Regions from separate parts of the Homo sapiens genome. Here all the other regions are linked to region 2. Evidence: promoter capture Hi-C in human tissues and cell types (Jung and others, 2019). All regions are on one chromosome and are shown on one strand. The core of a region is centred on a gene start or on the middle of the fragment in contact, and the rest is flanking DNA. Distances in the headings are between cores, read along the strand shown. Region 1 overlaps NAV2 (neuron navigator 2). Region 2 holds the start of E2F8 (E2F transcription factor 8). Region 3 overlaps NAV2 (neuron navigator 2). Region 4 overlaps NAV2 (neuron navigator 2).

Evidence for each region. Contacts are between HindIII fragments. The study calls those that stand out against the background at their distance.
Region 1: a fragment that was not itself captured here is called in contact with the fragment with the promoter of E2F8 in region 2 in 1 of the 25 tissues and cell types used here (mesenchymal stem cells).
Region 3: a contact is called between a fragment that was not itself captured here and the fragment with the promoter of E2F8 in region 2, in 1 of the 25 tissues and cell types used here (aorta).
Region 4: a contact is called between a fragment that was not itself captured here and the fragment with the promoter of E2F8 in region 2, in 3 of the 25 tissues and cell types used here (IMR-90 fibroblasts, heart right ventricle and thymus).

Annotation. Positions count from the first base shown.
Region 1 is chr11:19,781,725-19,784,424 of GRCh38, forward strand. The region is part of intron 1 of NAV2 (neuron navigator 2); the gene reads left to right. Among named protein-coding and RNA genes, the nearest start is that of MIR4694, 23 kb to the left of the region's middle. The HindIII fragment of the contact is 7,941 bases long and covers 1-2,700 here.
Region 2 is chr11:19,239,659-19,242,373 of GRCh38, forward strand. E2F8 (E2F transcription factor 8) reads right to left here and starts at 1,287. Exons shown (of 13, transcript NM_024680.4): 1 at 890-1,287; 2 at 449-572. The coding sequence starts at 463. All of the region lies in intron 1 of CSRP3-AS1 (CSRP3 and E2F8 antisense RNA 1), which reads left to right. RefSeq lists a silencer at 1,357-2,056 and enhancers at 2,177-2,286, 2,492-2,715. The HindIII fragment of the contact is 7,308 bases long and covers 1-2,715 here.
Region 3 is chr11:19,890,672-19,893,371 of GRCh38, forward strand. It overlaps NAV2 (neuron navigator 2), which reads left to right. Exons shown (of 38, transcript NM_145117.5): 6 at 1,763-1,923. Among named protein-coding and RNA genes, the nearest start is that of NAV2-AS3, 89 kb to the right of the region's middle. RefSeq lists an enhancer at 1,358-2,557. The HindIII fragment of the contact is 3,100 bases long and covers 1-2,700 here.
Region 4 is chr11:19,801,627-19,804,326 of GRCh38, forward strand. The region is part of intron 1 of NAV2 (neuron navigator 2); the gene reads left to right. Among named protein-coding and RNA genes, the nearest start is that of MIR4694, 43 kb to the left of the region's middle. The HindIII fragment of the contact is 6,637 bases long and covers 1-2,700 here.

The DNA of each region.
Region 1 (2,700 bases), core at 171-2,670, 540 kb after region 2:
AGGTGCTGTGTTTAAAAGACAAATGCTCCTTTAGCTTTTTTTTTTTTAATCCCTAACTTTATGGAGGCTTAATTGCCAAATAAAAATTGTATATATTTAAGGTGTACAGTGTGATGATTTGATCTATGCATACATTATGAAATGATTCCCACTATCAAACTAATTAACACATCCATCAGCTTGCTTCAGCTCTTTACACGTATAGACTGATTCCCATCTTAACAACTTCCGTTTTTTTTCCTGACTAAAGCTCATTAACACTCACATGAAAGTATTACCACCTTCAGCTAGAAAACAACGGTCATTTCCACTCTCAGGGACTTCTAGGACTTTCTCCTGCTTTCCACTAATTGTAACTGGCATAGATTTGACCATCTCCCAGGTACTGAAGTCATGTCCATTTTCTACTAATTCCCCAAAATCTCAAGGGCAAGAAGTTCCATTCTTTCCTTGAGAAAGCAGGTTGGAATATACAGGAATAGTTCCATATGCATTTCCGCTGTGGGTAATGAGCCCTCATAGCCTTGATGTACTTTCCTGAATTGAAACCAAAGCATGTGAGGAAGGTTTTGACTTTGGTTAATTACTAGGAAAATAAAGAAAGGAATATTGGGAGGGAAGGAGAGAAAGCCTCTGAAATTAGTAAGTGACTTCCTCTTAATGACATTTTGAGGTAACACATTTTCCTTCATTTTTGTGTTAATAGAGAAGTAGAGATTTATAATTGGTCCCTTTGGTGACCTGGCAGTGCTTACATTACTTATGCAATTGTTTTTGTTTTTGTGTGAAGCCAGGGAAAAAAATTGTTTTGTTTCTGGCTCCTGTAATGTAATGCCAGCCACCCAGAAGGCATGTGGCTAAGCTTTTCTTCAGGGTCTCTAAGACTCTCCAGGACACATGGACCAGGCTGCCATTGTCTTTCCAGCTGCCAGCCCAGAGATCTGGGCTGGGTGACCCAGGTGCTGTTCCCAAGGGTTGTTCTTTTTGATTCAGAGATTGTTACAGAAATGCTGTTTCTAATATAAGAGCAATAGCCAGGGAGGTGGAAAGGCAGTGGAAGAGCCTGACCTCCCACTAAGAATGGGTGTTAGAGTGAAGGGTTAGAATGAGTTGACAGATATTGTTTAAACAGGGTAACAAGAAGGTGTGATGGAGATATTTGGCTGGGCTGAGATGTAGTCGAGGATTGCCCTTGTGACCAGAAATAATATGTCTGGTTATAACACTGTGGAGTGGGACAAGGGTAAGCACCTGCATTATACATTATCTTTGTCATAGTGAGAGATGAGCTGTGTGCTTGCTGGGAACATGATAGGTCCTGTGGCACAAATGAATCTATAGGAAAGCAAGGCACTTTAAATGGGATTTATCAGCTCCAGTATGTTTACTGGGCTTAGGAAGGTGTGTATGTCTGTAGAGGGTCCAGGAGTGAGTCTTTTGTTTCACAGCTATAGCTTTGCCTATTTTTCTAGCATTGTTCCCGATGTGAAGTTTCAGGATTCAAGACTACTGATTTCTCGTTCCAACCTTTGTGGGATCCAGTCCATTGGTGGATGAAGTCCAACTCCTTTGTGGGATTCAAGGCCTTTTAGATGATAGCAGTGTTTTAGGTCTTCTTCAGCAGAGCTTCCACATAGAACCTGTTAGTTCCAATCAGCATGGTTGGCCTGGTGATATTCCAATTTCACGCTTCTTCCATCTCTCCATGTTATCACCCCATCCTTTTGAAGCTCAGATTGAGTCCCCTTTTTTTAAGAAGCCCTCCCTGACTTCTTAAAAGGAGGGCTTTTAAGCCCTGACAGGCAGTAGTATGAACCCTCGTCTGATTCTCTAAGTCCTTGAGCTGCTGGTGGATGTGGTATCTTTGCTATCAGACTTTGAACAGTGGCTTCATGCATAGATACTGGGGATAGTCAAACCCCCCTTCCCTCCTAGCTCTGCCAATGATCTGTGCAACCTGGGGAGAATATTGCTTTATTTCTCTGAGCCCCAGTTTCTTCATCTGTAAAATGATGATGATGATAATCATTCCAAATTCAAGGTTGTTAGGGTTGTTTAGTAAGATACAGGTATTCAGAGCAGCATCCAAGCACATAGTAAATGCTCAATAAATGTTAGCCATTGTTATAATGATAATGATCATGATGTTACCTTAATTCATCCAACACATTTATGAAACATCTTCTAGGAACTAGGGAATATATGAGTCAACAAAAAAGTTTCATACCTATATTTTACTGGAAGAAAGAGATAATAAGCAAAACATGTTACTTTTTATGGTGATGAATGCTATTATATTAAGAAAAATATAGCAGGGTGAGAAGGATAGGGAGGAATGGTGGAGGTTACCTTTAATGTAGGATGGTTAAGAGGGGCTTTATTGGCCAGTCGCAGTGGCTTATGCCTGTAATCCCAGCACTTTGGGAGGCTGAGGTGGGCAGATCACCTGAGGTTGAGAGTTCAAGACCAGCCTGACCAACATGGAGAAACCTCGTCTCTACTAAAAATACAAAATTAGCTGGGCATGGTGGCACATGCCTGTAATCCCAGCTACTCAGGAGGCTGAGGCAGGAGAATCGCTTGAACCCGGGAGGTGGAGGTTGCGGTGAGCCAAGATGGCACCATTGCACTCCAGCCTGGGCAACAAGATCAAAGCTCCATCTTAAAAAAAAAAAAAAAAAAAAAAAAAAAAGAGGGGCT
Region 2 (2,715 bases), core at 37-2,536:
AGAAATGTTGTAATGAAACTAACGAATTTTTGAAGAGGGGTAGGTTTGCCCCTTTACACTCTTTCTAGTTTTTAATGATTTGGTAGCTGTCTCAGACATAAAGAGAGAAAAGGTATTTTTAAGAATAATAAAATTTGTTAGTTTCATTACAACATTTCTGAGGATTCTTGAACAACTGGAATTCAGAAAGGGCATTTGACATGATTGGAGACTGAATTTCTTTTTAAGATAATTTTCATTTTTTAAACTATATTAATTAAATTAGTATATATTTTAAACTATATATTTTTGAAACTATAAGATAAGGTTCATTTTTTCCAGGTCTTTACAGAGGCTAACCAAGGTTGTGGCATTAAGAAAACACATTGGATAGGGAAAAATTATGGAGTTAAATCAGGATGATACTGAATTTAAAATTGCAATGATGAATACTGAAGTTATAAAGTACCTTTTCGTTCTCCATTCTGTAAATTCCTCATACATTTAGAGTTTAAAAATGAAAAATCTGGAGTTCCTCCCCAAATCCCGATGGTTCAAGTAGTCCAATCAATTGTACTAAAAGTTTTAATATCCTTAAAGAAAAAAGGAAATAGAAAAAGTTAGAGAAAAACAAGAACCAAAAGATCTGTTGAAAATTCCTTCACGGACAAGAGGCTACGGAAACAAAGCCTAACGAAAAATGACAAACTAGATTTACATTTTATTCTCGACCAGAGATCGCCCCACTGAGCGGAGAACGCCAACAAATGCCAGTAAATTCCTTCAGCAAACGGATCGGCGGTCCTAAGACTTCAAGCAACCCACGGAATTTCTAGTGACAGCCCTCTCCCATCTGTAGAAAAGGCGAGCCATTCTCCGGACCCCAGCGAATACTTTAGGAAGCACCCACCTGTTCGCAGATCAGGGCTCCGGACTAAGCGCACGAGCCCAGGTCCCAGCTGAGCGCACGCGACCCCAAGTAACTGGGTACAAGTCTGCATCTAGATGCCTGGATTTCTCCCCTTACACACACGTGCACAGGCTCAGCAGTAAAGTCGTGGGAGGTCGCTTGACAGGAAAGTTCCAAATTCAGTCCCAAAGCTCCAAGTATGCAGTTGGGCATTTAAAGAGTCTTATAATTAAGACTTTTTTTTTAAATTTAAAAAAGGGCTTCCTTAAAGATACAAAGCACTATTTACTCCCTGTTCGGGTGGCCAGTTCACACCACGGCGTTAGACTCCACCTTGGAAGGCTGTATTTGCCCAATAAGGCAAGCAGGTACTGTCCCCCGGCCGCCACTCGCTCAGTGCACTTCCCCCAACTTTCGGCCAAAGGCCCCTCCCCCAGGCCCTGTCCGCCCGCCGCAGTCCCGACAGTTCCCGGACAGCATCATCGTGGTTTCCAGGACAACAATTCCCGACCAATCAGAGGGCCGGAAGCGGGCCTGCGATTGGCCGACGGCGCCAGGGGCGGGGCCGGACCTTCCGCCTTCGATTTAAAAATTTGGCGCGGAAAGTCGGACCGTGGCCGGCGCCTCCCCTTAGCTGCGCGGGGCCTGAGCGCGGGCAAACCCGCGCCCGGAACCACGGCAACCCCGCCCCTCCCCCTCGTTCGCCCCCGCCCCTCTGCGCGGGAGCTCAGCTCCTCCCTCACGGCCCCCGGCGAAGCGGGAGGCGGGAAACGGCCGCCGCCGCCGCCGCCGCCACCCTCCCGAGCCCTCTCCCGGTGCCGTGTCGCCCGGGCGCCGCGCCCCTCTGCGTCCCGCTGACCTGTCAGTCCACCTCACGGCGGGAGCCGGCGGGGGCTGAGCCGGGACTCGTCAGCACCGCTGCCCCTCTCAGGCCCGGGAGCCCGCGTACCTGGCAGTCAGTCTTTCCGCAGCGCCGAGGTGGGTGCCGGAGAGAGACGCCGGGACCGGGACTGGCGGGCCGGCTGGCGGGCAGAGGGAGCGTGACCGTCCAGGAGCAGCCAAGCCCCCGATTTGAAATTAACCCGCTCCCGGCGCGAGCCGATACCGCGGGCGGGGAGGGCCGCTCCCCTCCCCCACGCCCGCTCGCCCCGGCCCCGGCCCCCGAGCGCCAATCCGAGCCTCCCGACCGTAGCCGCCGGCGAATCGGTGCAGGCACCGCCCTCCACTCCCGCCTCTACGGCAGAGTTGGGGGAAAAGTTCAGCAACTTTTTTTTCCTTTTTTTTTTTTTTTGCATACACCCCCTCCCCTTGCTCAAAGTTGGGGAATAAAATTTGGCCCGTCCGGGGCTCGCGGGCTGGGCCGCAGGCGCCCTGCGATTCCCCGCTTGGGGCTATCTCACCCCTGCCCAGCCCCAGGCCGGCTCACCTGCCCTCGGACTCCAGCCGGACCTCTCCCCCTTGCACCCCTGGCATGCATGATTGTGCTGCCCACCGTCTGCCCCGTGCCTCGCAGAAACTGGCGCGAGGAGGGAGAAGCTTGGCTACTGGTGCCTAAGCTCCGTGGGCTCTGGGCCTTGGCCCAGCGGTGAGAACTCAGGTGTAGGAGGAAGAGGAGGAAGGCGGAAAACCCTCCAACCCTGTCCTCGCCGTCTTTCCTCAGGGTCTCCCACCCACTCCTCCCTTTCTCTTCCCTGTTGTCTTTCCCTCTTTTTCCGGTCTCCGAGCCTCAGGCAGCTTTAGCCTGGTTCCCTGTAGAGCCCTAGCAGGGTCGGGGAGACACTTCGATCCTTCGTCCTCACTTTGCAGAACGGGACACCGAGGCCCGG
Region 3 (2,700 bases), core at 165-2,664, 650 kb after region 2:
TCTTCCATTGGATGTGAGTAATCAGATAACACTGACTTGAAGGACTTGCAGAACATTGTTTGCATTGGAAGCAGAACCAAGAGGTACTAAGATCCCACTGCTGGACCTCCTTGGCCAGATGTGCTAGCCACATCTGGTCCCCAAACACAGGCACTGGCACTGCTAGTATTTTGTACTCCGTTCTGTGCCTGTCTTTGTGGAGTGAATGTCCTCTCCAAAGGAGATGAGGTAAATTAACCAAGGTACAAATCCTCGCAGCACAGTGGGAAGTAATTCTCACTGCAACTTGTTGGGGGAAGAGCTAACCCCCTTCCTTCTCTCCCAGCTCCCAGTCAGGGAATTGGGCCAGCTTCTTTTTAACTATATAATTTTTACAGTCCCCTCACACCAGCTCATGTTCTCTGTTTACTCTACAACCATCTTTCTTGCCCAGCCAACAAGAAAAGTTTAAAGTGATTGCCTGCTTATATCTAAAATGCTTCCAGACTGTAGACTTCTTTGGTGCTTACAGATTTGCATGGAAAGAGAAGGCTGAAAGTTTTATGACTTGAAAATTCAGACTTGTCACTAGATCTAATGCTAGTCAGCTGAGGTTCCAGTGGCTTTTAAACACAGCTAAGTGGATTTCAAGCTGAAAGATATAACTAAACATTTCATCATTTATTCATCTTTCAACTTTAATTATTGGAAACAGCCTGCTTAGTAATTCCCTGGACCAAAATCCTGATTTGAGGAGTCTTACCATTAACTCTTTGGTGAATGGGCCATAATATCTTTAGACACATTATGGATGGTGACTTTATTTCCCAAGCCACCCAAAATGAGGTGTTTTATTTAAAGGGAGAGTGTGTGTTTGTCTTTAGGCCAACAAATTCCTGCCAGTTTTACAGGAAGAATATATGATGTTATCCATCTACTGTGCAGATAAGTTGTACTTCAGCCTCAAAATAATGCCTTTGGAGACAGGTCATCAGGTGTTGAAGGGAAATGTATGTGTGGGCAAGTGTTTCCAACCAACCTGAAGTTTTCATTGCAAATATGTTGGATTCTGAGTGGTAGTAATTCACCTTCTCACCACTATAAATTGTCCTTTTCTTGATACTTACAACCCCAGATTATGGCAAACAGTTTTTATACCTATCAGAAGAGATGCACACACAAGGTTATCAGTTTAGAATCCTCTGAGGGCTTTATGTTCCATGCTTGATAAAATTAGAAATGACTGGCTTGACCCTATTCAAAAGTAAAAATACTTATCCCAGAGGGAAAAAAAAAATGAACTTTGTTTTTGTTTTGTTTTGTTTTGAGTCAGGGTCCCACTCTGTCACCCAGGCTGGAGTGCAATGGCGTGATCTTAGCTCACTGCAACCTCTGCCTCCCAGGTTCAACTGATTCTCCTGTCTCAGCTTCCCAATTAGCTGGGATTATAGGTGCCCACCACCATGCCTGGCTAATTTTTGCATTTTTAGCAGAGATGGGGTTTTGCCATGTTGAACTTTGTATTTTTAATCCACAAACATATTTCTTCATCAAAATTTTTCTCTCTGCTCAAAGGGAAACTTCACATTTTGCTGTTGGACTTTGCTGGGGTCATTACTTGCCTACATGTTTGTAATGGTTCCACCAAATTCTGTGACTGGCAAACCTCCACACAATGTCTTGGATAGTTTCTTTTGCCTCCTGCATGGTTGCAGTTCCTTCTTCCTACACACTGTTATTCTTCTGAGACTGAATGCATTATCCTGTTGCTTTTGCATTTTAGACTTCCAGGTCCTACCGCGAGGGTATCCGCTGCAGGCAGCGAGGCCAAAACACGCGGAGGGTCAACTACTGCTAACAACCGACGCAGCCAGAGCTTTAACAACTATGATAAATCCAAACCAGTCACCTCCCCACCCCCACCGCCAAGCAGCCACGAGAAAGGTGAGTCACCTTCTTGAGGAGCCTTTTTGGTATTTTCCTTCAGAGCACATCTACCTAGTTCCTTCGGGTGAATTGGGTTGGGTCATGGGGAGGGGTTGCATCTGTGTTGAGAATGAGTTACAAGGACATATTTGGTAGGCAGGAACTTTAGTAGCCAGAGGTATTAATAAAGTGGGGGAAAATATTGTTATAGTCACTAGCAAAAATAATTTGCTATCTTTGTTTGGGTGGGGCCCCATAGACACCCGGCTATGCATAGAAGCAATATAGCATTTGGAATTTGAAAATAAATTTTCATGGAATATGTTCCATATATTAAGTAGTTTTTCAGAAATGCAAGCTTCTTGGAGCATGCATTTTGTGAACTGTGATAAGCTTTTTTATCCGTCAGAAATAATGTGAGGGGAGTTAGGAACAAGAGGTTTTTCACCCTTTGAAAAAGTCAGGAATGTGGATTGGCTCATTGAAGATCTTGGCTACATATAAGGAGTGGACAGCATTGCTCTAGGAGTTGTGATGATGTAACTTTTGCCATAAAAGGATATGGATTTTTTTTTTTTTTTTACTATACACAGTACTGAGTTTTTAGGATGGAGAAAAATAGTGAATAGTCCCATGGGGGTGCTGCCCAGAATGTAGTAAAACAAACCTTTGCTTGTTTCAGCCTCTATCTCTTGAGACATTGGAGAAACTAAGGTAGTTTCAAAGATTATTCAAAAAGAGGCAGAGCCTTCCTTCATTCCTTCTAGGCAAAGTAGTCTAGACATCTTTAGGAAA
Region 4 (2,700 bases), core at 157-2,656, 560 kb after region 2:
TGGGGACTACTTTCGGAGGATGTGGCTGAGCTGGAATCTGCCCCCATCTTCTGGAGGCACAGTGACAAAGAAGGGCAGTCTCTGGCTGAATCTGAGTTCAAATCCCGGCACTATCACTTACTAGCTCTGTAACCTTGGGCAAGTTACGTCACCTGTGAGCTCCTATTTTTTCAAAATGTGAAATTAAGAGGACAATAGTCTTGAACTCCCAGGGTTGTTGTGAGGATTCAGTGATAAGTGCATATAAAGCATGTAGTACGGTGTATGCCACATAGTGTGTGCTTAATAAGAGCTAAAATCATTGCTTTTATTTTAATAATTATCATTGCTGACCTTATCCATCATCACCCTTGTCCGGAGGAGAATAGCCAGGGTGGTGAGAGAACCAAAGCTTTGTTCTATGAAGAGTATTTATAGGAATTTGAAACTCTTTTATGATATTATGACTCGTGAAAGAGACACTATGCCACCTTTTATCTCCGAAGGGCTAGAAGGATTAATCACTGGGGGTCTTCACCAAACTGGGACCAAAATTCAATTCAGTGGGAGGAAGAGTTTTCTGAGATTAGTGTCAAATGGCTCTTATAGGAGGTCAGAAGGTCTTTACCCCTGGCAGTTTAGGGAAACTTGGCATGGAGCTTGTGCAAGGGATTCATGCATCAAGGAGGGGTGGGATTGGGCTAGAGGGCTTGGCTGGCCTCTTCCATTCCCAGAATTCTCTGATTCTGGGTTCCAGGAGCGCCTGTGCTCTTTTTTCTAAAGAAAGACTACCTAGAGGAATACGCCACACTGTATAGCAACTTTATGTGATTGCTGAGGCCTCCCCAGCCACCTGTGATCTGTGAACTGGCCTCTTGTTCTTGCATCTTTTAAATAAGTTAATGTCCATGCTCTTAATTTTGGTTTTGGATGAGTTATTATTTCTAGATACTTAAAGCAATTAGGCCTTATAGTGCCAGTATTGGTTAAGAATAGTACATCACCAAGGCAGGAGAATCACTTAAGGCCAGGAGTTTGAGGCTGCAGTGAGCTATGCTCATGCCACCATACTCCAGCCTGGGTGACAGAGTGAGACCCTGTCTCTCAAAAAAAAAAAAAAAAAAATTACACCAATGTTTTTTCATCCTGGAGAATGGTTTTGTGGGGATGAGAGAGTCGATGGGGACAGGCAATTTGCAGGACCTCTGCTCTCCCACACAAATCAGCCTTCTAGGAAAGCCTCAGATGCACAAATTTAGAATGTATTTTCTTTCCTAAGAAGCCATTAACCCTAACTAGGAAAAACAGACAGAGGGGAGCAGCTGCTTCCTCTCTGTTATAAACAGCCATTTTGATCACAGAGGCCTCCTTTCCATTCCTTTCCAGGTTTGTCATGTTCTTGCACAGAGACGGTTGTGTGTTCCAGGCTGGGGTTTATTTTTACCAGCAATACAGATGTTTCTGCTCTTGTGCAAAATTTCATTAAAGTTCAACCAGTGGTTTGCTGTGGGAGGAGGCTGCCAAGGTTAATATTTCTGCGATGTATTCCCTTCTGTTCATTCTTGGCACCAAAATATTCCCAGGTGGGCAGGTTGTGCTGGTGCTGTATATCAAAACTAAACAACAGAATCACCAGTTTATCTGTTGAACTCAGGTGGAGTCTCTGATCACACAGAGCGCATCAGCTTTGTCTTGAAAATGCAGGCAGGGAGATACTCCCTCTGGTGAGTATCTGCTCACCCTTTAATGCCCTTTAGCAGAGAACGCCTCACACTGCAGAGGTTACCTTGGGGGCCAAGAAAGCATTTGGCAGCATGAAATGCTACATCCTTCCACTTTCCCACTGAAATGGTGGGAGCAGAGCTTCAGATATGTGTTCAAATCCTGTCTGTGGCTTAGGCAAGTTACTTACCTCTGTAGAGTGTCAGTGTCTTCATCTGCAAAATGGAATTAGTCATCCCTGCCTCAAAGGATATTGTGAGGCTTCATTGAGATGCTGCATATAATTAATTGAGATAGAGCAGAATGCCCTGGGGCAGGGAAGATGCTTGTGAGAGGAAACTGTTAAATGAGCACTTGGGGGATTCCCCCAATGGTAGAGGATAATGTATAGTCCAGGGAAGCCCCTCATTCTTCTCCCTGCTTTTGCAATGGAAAAATTCTGCATGCAGCAGAACCAGTTCTTCTACCTGAGAGCTTGAAAAAGGCAAGTTAAAAGTAATAGCAATCTGACTTGTTTGACGTGTGTTTCCTCTGCCTCGCCCCATCTGTGGCTTATCGAATTGGAAAGTGGTCAAACAAACATGGCCCTTGTCTAGGAACAATTGGCAAGGGTAGGGTAGAGCTTGAAAGGGGTGTGGCTAGGATTAAAGGTGAGACAAAAGTGATATGGTATAAGGTGATCTGTGGCCAATTTGCTTAATGACTTTTACTACTTACTTTCTGAATCCAGGTCTACTCATTAGGTCAGTGAGAAGAGCCAGACCTCATGCACTAAAGAGAGCAGGTGTGTGTGTATGTGTGTGTGTCCTTCAGGTCTCTGCAGATTTGTAGGGTCATCTGGTTAAAAATAGATAATGTTCATACTCGTTTTATAAGTCTCCATTGAAGAAGGGAATATGGACAAAATTATTCATTTTCAATTACAACGTCACCAAACGTATGTCTAGTTATTTAGGATTATTTTAATCAGTACTCTTTGTAAGCTATCCCTCTCACATA